2 separate regions of the Homo sapiens genome follow, and region 2 is linked to region 1. Evidence: promoter capture Hi-C in 16 types of primary human blood cells and fetal thymus (Javierre and others, 2016). All regions are on one chromosome and are shown on one strand. The core of a region is centred on a gene start or on the middle of the fragment in contact, and the rest is flanking DNA. Distances in the headings are between cores, read along the strand shown.

Region 1 (3,839 bases), core at 93-2,592:
TGGGCATGTTCAGGGCAACATTGCCCAAATGTGAACTGAGCCCACCTGTCTAGGGTTTTCTCCAAAGGTGAAGACAAATAGCCGCCACCAATTCCAATTTGCTTTTTGCCATTCCTAATACTTGGCATTTAGGTAATCTCCCTCTCCTACTCTTCATTTAAATGTTTACATTCTCCCAAAGTACCTCAAATGGTGTAATCTGGAGAAAAATAAGTGGCTTAAGATCACGGGGGCTTTGTGAGTTGGGTACTATTACTTCCGTTTTACAGATGAGGAAACTGAGGCCCGGAAAGGATATGTAGTCTGCCTAGTGCCCTGCTTGAGGAACCAAAATCAGCATGGGAACTGACTCCTAAGCAGGTGCGCGGTTCATGCTGCTGGAAGAAATATAAACAAATTAGAACAGAGAGTAAGGAAACGTAACATTACTTTAGGAATAGATTGGGTCCCTGAGACCTCGTCATCAGAGAAGACTTCAGAATCCAAGTTTTAAATAGCATTCTAGTGTTTACCAAGCACACAACATTTTGCAAAGAAAGCTGAAATTTTTACTTGGGGGTAAAAGGCTCAGGAACAACTGGTTTTGCGGCCAAAGGCTTTAAATGAAAAGCTAAGCGTTGGCCAGCTCAGGTTTTATCTTGCATTGATCGTAATCTGCAAGGAAGCTAAGAAGCTGGCCGGCCCCGCGCCTGGAGGGTAGGTGGAGAGCGGCTGGGTCCTGGCCAAGAAGCTGGAAGGCAGGCTCATTCCAGGGGCCGCAGCCCCCGGGAAGAAGCAGGGGGCTGGCCGCGCTGTGGCCCTGCGGGGTCGAGGAGTCTGGTAGCGGACAGGTTTCCAGCCTTGTACAAGCCACCGGCAGCCCGAGAGAAGTCAGTCGGACTCCCATCGAACCCGGGGCGCACGCCAGAGGGCCGGACGCAGCGAGTCCTTCTGCCCCGCTTCAGCACGTGTCCCATTTCGGTTATCTCATTGGCTCTATTCAGCCCCTCTCTGCTCCGCTTTGGAAGGCTGCCGCAGGACCGCCCCGCTGATTGGTTCAGAAGCTTTGGTGTGTCACTCTGACTGGTCGACAGAGTTCACGCCCTCTCTCCCGGGTCATACCATAAAGAGAGGAGGGGAAAACGCATGCATTTCAGGACTTCGCTTTCGGGTTCCCTTGTCCTGTGTTGTGTAATGCCCCCGTTATGGCACTAGAAATATTTTTTATTAGCCGAAGCTAAATATAGTGGGACTTTGGCTGATCCCGAGCTCGGAGGACAGCCGGGGTGATCCGTTTCCCCCCGAGGATCGAGGTGGTGCGCTCTGGACGGGGTTGTGCATTCTCGCCGCGCCCGGGCGGACGATCCAGCGAACAGCCCCGCTTCTAACCCGAGATGCTGCTGCCGGCGCCCGCGCTCCGCCGCGCCCTGCTGTCCCGCCCCTGGACCGGGGCCGGGTGAGTGAGCACGGGGCCCGGGGCGGCCCGAGCGCGCGCCTGGGGCCCGGGAGCCTGAGAGTCACTGGGCGTCCCCCGCGCCGCACTCCCTCCCTGCCGGACCCCCAAGCTGCCTCGGTCAACGCCGGGTTCCTCAGGGGCTCCCCTCCGACCCCCACCCAGGCCTTTCTCCCACTGAGATCCCTTAGCCTCCTCCCTCAGGTAGTCACCTTCCTTTAGCGAGGGGACCCCTCTTCCCGAATCCTGCGACCGAGTAGGGTGCCTCGGTGGCCCTGCCGGTTCCCACGCTCGGAAAGTAGCCTCTGTAGTCACTCACCTCACTCCTAATACTGGATCTTCGCAATTTGCTGGCTTCCCCTGAGGGGCCCTTCTATTTTTAGCACACCACACATCTCACTTCCCCACCCTCGTCTCACGTTCAGTGTCCCCATCCCGCCCCGGATTCCCCGAGTCCTCTCCTTCTACCAGGATTTCTACCTCTCTCTTTTCCGCTCCCCACACACCCCGCCGCCCGTTTTTTTTTTTTTTTTTCAAGTTAAATGTTGGACAGAAAAAAGGATTCCTTTCTTCTTGTAGGTGGAATAATCATATTTATAGAGTGCTTATAATGAACCAAATGCTGGCCGGGCAATTGGCAGGTGTCTTATGAGGATTAAATGAGTTAATACATGGGGAGTGCACTGAACAGTGCCCAGCACAAAGGCAGCGCCCGGTTATTATTATTGCCACGATCATCATCATTATCACCTCTATTTAAACTTCTCACTCCTGTGAGGCAGGTCATTATTCCAAATAATGAAGAAACCCAGGAGCAGTTCAGGGGTGGACCTGCCCTTCAAATCCCGATTTGCAAACCTGACATTGTGGAGCCAGGTGCCTGGACCCTTGCCCACTCAATGACAAATATTCTCAGAGCCCCTCCAGCTCGGAGCTAGGTTTGGAGAGGTAGGTGGGACACAGACCCTGCCCCAGAGGGGTTCCTAGTCTGGTGGGGCTGCCCACCTGTGGATCAGCCCCCCCTCCCATTTGAGGTTTGTTTGCTTGACCCCTGGGGCTGTTAGTGGCAGTGTCTTTCCTGATGAGCTGTGCCCTTTCTGAGTTAATCAGTGGCCCTCTCCCTTCCCCCAAGGGATGGCATGGTGGTGCTCTGAGCACAAGTGAGTTGCAACACTGCTGTGTGTCCTCTGTGGGTGAAGAGGGGATAGGAAAGGGCGCAGGAAGAGGACATGGGACAGAGGGGTTCCTCTTCTAGGCTGAGACTGGGGCCACACTTGCCATACTCCCTGTGTGATCCCGTTTGCAGGCCTTCCCTGCACTCTGAGACTCAGGAAGATGGAGCTTATAGAGTCCTGTGTTTACTGAGTGCCTACTGTGAGCTGGTGCTCTGCCAAACACCCTAGAGATGAGGGGTACCCAGGGAATTTACATGGGGTGGGGCCTTTGAGGAGTTTTCGGCTTAATAGGGGAGAAATGCATAGGAAAACCCTCCAATATCTAGTAGAAAGCAATCCATATTCTAAAAGATAAGCCCATGATAACAATAATGATTATCAAGCAATCAAGCACCATGGGCCTAACACCGAGCCGGTAAGTACTGTCTCATTCCTGTATTATCATGGGAAACGATCTGCCATCAGAGATATATGACTGAAATTACATTTGGTCTAAATCCAGATTTATGCTCTGAATTATGAGGCCTCCTGAATTGAGAGGGGAAAGAGAAAGAGCATTTTGCAGCTGGTTCCCTGGGCTCAAGTTACCCCTTTGATACAGCAGCTGGCCGCATGCCCTAGACAGGATTTCTCAACCTCACCACTATTCGCATTTGGGGCTACATTTTGGTTGCTGTGGAGTCTGTCCTGTGCACTGTAGAATGTTTAGCAGCGTCTCTGGCCTTTACCCGCTGCATGTCAGGGGCACCCCCGGCCCTGACAATTACGAAAAAAACCCTGGCCCTGACAGGAAACACAAGTTCCCAGACATTGTCAGATGTTACCTGGGGGACAAAAGTCACCTCCGGTTGAGAGCCAGTGCTCTAGAGGAACAGCTTTGATGTTTGATCACTTGTTCATTTACTCAGTGAACATTTAGAGCACACCCGTGACATGCCATGTCTGCATTTATGGAGAAACAGTCGCAGGGCATTTTCAGTGACATCCCTCAGTGTCCTACGTGTAAAACTCTAGTCCTGAGAAAAACCGCTGCTTTTGAGGAACGGGTATAGGAGATGCTTCTTAGTGTTTTCTTTTTTGCCTTGAGTGCCAGGAATCTCTGCTAGTTTTAAAAAATACCCTTGATACATGTTTTCTTTTAGTTTAATACATGTCAACTGTGAAAAGTACAGATAAGGCAAAAAAATAGAAAAATCACCTGGAATTGTACCACACAGAGGTACCCACTGTTA
Region 2 (3,637 bases), core at 724-3,223, 260 kb after region 1:
GGAGAATACTGAAGTCATCAGGAAGCACGCAGATGTGAGGTTCTGAATGGGGTGTGGCCTCTAGAAGCCCCAAAGACCCCTTTATACTAGATGAAAAATTCTGCCTGTATGAAAGTATATAAGTATGTAAATGGCAAGGTTTTAGAATTATTTTTTCGGTTTTAGCCTATTCTTAAAGGGATCCAGGATCCCCTAAAAGGATAACAACATTTGTCTTAGCTAATTCTCTTTTTTCATGGAAGGAAACTGAGGCCCAAAGAAGTTGAATGGGTTGTCTAGAGTGATATCGCTAGTGAGTTGCGGGTGGGATGGACAGTAGAACCTCGACCACGATGCACTTTGCCCCTCTCAGATTGCTCCAGCCTGGCACACCTGGGTTCGGATGGAGAGCAAGGCGGTCGGAGGAGGGGATGGAACACAGCCGCGGGGGGCTGGTGGGTGCGACCTGGACCCGGAGTTGCACTAAGCCTTCAGCTCGCCCTGGGTTGCCTCCCCATTACTCGCCCTCCAGTCCGCAGCGTTCGCAGCCTGGAAGAGGGGAAAGTGGCCGGAGCGCCATCCCTTCCCAAGAACTTAGAAGGGGCGGCGGCTAAATTGGAAGGCGGCGAGCTTCACTCTCCGGGCAGTGAAGCCCGGGCCGGCCTGTTAATTTAGCAACGCTCTGAATGCAGTTCCCGGCCTCTCCCTCTCTCCACGTCCCAACACCGCCAGGCACGCGGGCTGGCCCCTGCCCAGCGCCCCGGGTTGGAGCGCAGAACCCGGCCTCCCGCCTCGGGGTCGGCCTCCCTCCCGCCCTGCCGGCCCAGCTCGCTCGCCTCTAATTAAGCGGCAGGATCGCAGCGAGCCGCCGGGACGTGCTGTAATATGATGAACTGCCTTTGTGCGGATGTCACCGAAAGCGCTTCTGATAAGGCGAAGCCACGAAGGATCAAAAGGGCGGCCGCGGCTCGCCCGCCTCCTATCTTCCCCTAGCCGCTGCCCGGCTTTGAGCACTCGCCCTCTCGGCCCGTGCTCTCCCGCGGGCTGTCTCTAGGTCCCGCTGGCTCTCCTGATCCGCCTGTCCCAGGGCCAGTCTCTCGGTGATTCTGCATCTCTTTGTCTTTCTTCCTGCTGCTCGGCGCCTCCCTCGGCGCCTCCGCATTTTCCAGCGTCCTCAAACTGTGCGCAAGATTCTCTTCTGCTGCGCTCAGACTTTCTCACTCTGAATTTTCTAGCTCTCTCCTCCTCTGTGGCTCTCTGTCTCCGCTGCCTCTCCCCACCCCTCCCTTGGTCTCCACCGGAGCTCGGGCCCAGCGCACCTCCAGGACCAGGGCGACCAAGCCATGGAAAGGTCCGTTCGCTGACCCTCAGACTGGGGAAATCGGCCAATTCACTGGCAGCCGACACGCAGAGCTCCGCGGCGGCCCCAGTGCCCCTCGCAATCCACCCTCGCTCAGCTCGGCTGCCAAACCGGGGGCCTGGCACGCGTGCCCAAGGCGCCCTAGAATGCCCTCGGGGCCTCTTTTGAGCTGGACTTGGGGCGCACACAACTTCCCTTCACCCCTCCCGAGGCTGTAGCGACCCGCAGACGCTTTTCCTCTCCCAGGAGGTTGAAGTTCCAAGTGCAGCCGACCCCCTCCCTTCGCATCCCCTCCCCACACCCTTTCCTTTGGCCCCCGCCTCCCCTTTGCCCTCGACCCCGTCTCTTCCTCCTCCAGGCCCCTCCCCTTCCCATGCTGGTAGTTCCCCCTGCGCTCTCACTGGACTCCTTCCCCGCCTCACCTCTCCCCCACCCCACTTCGTTTGAAGTTTTGGAGACATCTATCTACTAATGGCGAAGTTTCCCCCTTAGGTCACCGTTCTGCCTTGATTCGATTTGGGAAGGCGAGTTCCCTCCCTCCCTCCCCCTGCTCCACCCCAGCCGGGGCCAATCGCTCCAGAGCAGGTCAGAAAGCGCTGACCCCATTTCCACCTTTTCCTCTTTCAGCCAGAGTTGGGGGAAGGGGAAAAGAAGAGGGAAGGCCCCGGACAGCAAAAACTGAGGGGGGCATCCTAATCTTCCCAGCGCCTCTAACCCTCATCCTGTTTGCTAATTACCCCTTTAGTCTGCAATGGGAGGGAGAGAAGAGCTATTTTTCTGGAATTTCTGGAATGTGTCCTCCCCCCTTAGTCATGGCCTTCAAGGCCCCAGAGCCTCTAGAGAACCTTTCTTTGGGGGTCTCTCCTCTGTGCAGGAACCCTTCCCTCAACCAGGCATTGTCTTTTCAGGGGTGTGAGTTCTGTCTAGTCTTAGACTATGAGCTTCCAGGGCCACGGCCAGGACCTTGTACATTACATGTTTATATCCTTAGGTGCTCTTGCCTCACAGTACAGAATGAAGCCTCATCAACTTTGTTGATGGTGATAGAATGATGGCAAATAGAAACTCCAAAGAGGTAACCTGGAATGAAATCTCATTTGCTCAGCCCTCTTTTCCTATATAAAAATATGTTTTATATAATATTATTTATATATAATGTAATGTGTGACAACTATCATTTTCAGAAAGACATTCTTAAAAAAAAAAGCCCAAATAATCACCTTACTGCTTTAAGGCTACTGTTATATGTGCTTTTAAATCCTTCCATGTAAATTCCACTGAAAATTTGGAAAGCTGTGAAAGGGGAGGGGGCCGCGGGAGTTGGGGGGGGGGAGGTTAATCCGGGTTTAACGCTGCGATGCAGTCTCAGGACCAGGGTTAGCCTGATTGCGTTATCTCTTCCCAACATTTGAGACGCCCATATTTTACCCAGCCAAATAGCTCCGAGAGCAGCGCAGATGGCTGCTGTGGTCGCGCCTCAGGAAAATGTGTTATTAATATCTAAATAACTTCCCAATACTGTCTGGTAAATCTCCCCTCCACCATTCCAAATGATGAATTCGTTTGAAGTCTTCCCCCAGCCTCGTCTTTTCAATGTCTCTCTTCTCTCTTCTTCTTAGCCAGGCTTATTTCAAACTGGTAAATATCTAATTCCTTTAACCGCTGCGCCGTGCACACTAGTCTTTTAGGTACAAACGCCTTGAAACAGCCCAAGTGTGGCGGTGCGTGCCCCGAGGGGAACACAAAACCCGCACGCCCTCGCAGCGGGGGACCCCACCCGGTTCAGACGTGCCTGCGTTCCAAGACCGGCTGAGCACGGGAACCTCACTCAATCCGGGAACCGAGCCTCTTTTCTTGCGCGCCCTGGGGAGCCCCTCTTGGCTCCCCACGGAGTCCCAAAGGCACCCCCCAACACTCAGCTCTTCCGCAGCTCCCAGTCCCCTCCCTTCCACCCCTTCCCAGACCTCCGACGGCTTCCCCCGCTCTCTGGGGCGGATAATTGCCCTCCGCTCGCCTGTTCTCCCTTGTTTAAAGTTTGTTTTCTAAATGTCTTCTATTAGATTATGCTCATTCATCCCCCTCCAACCTTATCTCCTTCTGTCTCTTCTCTCCTTGCTCGTCACACTCAATTTAGGCACGAGTTTATCTAGCAAACAGTTTGCAGACTTTGTTTATTTACCGCGGGTTCTGGGGCTGCGAGCGCGCGAGCGCCAGTGTTTGCCTTTGTAATAGTTATCTCCTCATTGTTGTTTCTCGTTAGTCTCTGCTCCCGCCTCCCCCTCTCTCTTCTTCGGTTGG

The links. The method cuts DNA at HindIII sites, captures the fragments that hold promoters and counts their contacts. A CHiCAGO score of 5 or more calls a contact.
Region 2: a contact is called between a fragment that was not itself captured here and the fragment with the promoter of ALDH4A1 in region 1, in 1 of 17 cell types (fetal thymus). The highest score is 12.3, in fetal thymus.

The regions. Positions count from the first base shown.
Region 1 is chr1:18,900,058-18,903,896 of GRCh38, reverse strand. ALDH4A1 (aldehyde dehydrogenase 4 family member A1) reads left to right here and starts at 1,342. Exons shown (of 15, transcript NM_003748.4): 1 at 1,342-1,435. The coding sequence starts at 1,374. It overlaps LOC124903866 (a long non-coding RNA gene), which reads right to left and starts at 1,784. Exons shown (of 2, transcript XR_007065519.1): 1 at 1,645-1,784; 2 at 526-1,087. RefSeq lists enhancers at 289-1,106, 1,046-1,275 and a silencer at 1,356-1,575. The HindIII fragment of the contact is 9,883 bases long and covers 1,046-3,839 here.
Region 2 is chr1:18,640,988-18,644,624 of GRCh38, reverse strand. The region is part of intron 4 of PAX7 (paired box 7); the gene reads right to left. Among named protein-coding and RNA genes, the nearest start is that of PAX7, 12 kb to the right of the region's middle. RefSeq lists an enhancer at 3,153-3,637. The HindIII fragment of the contact is 6,318 bases long and covers 1-3,637 here.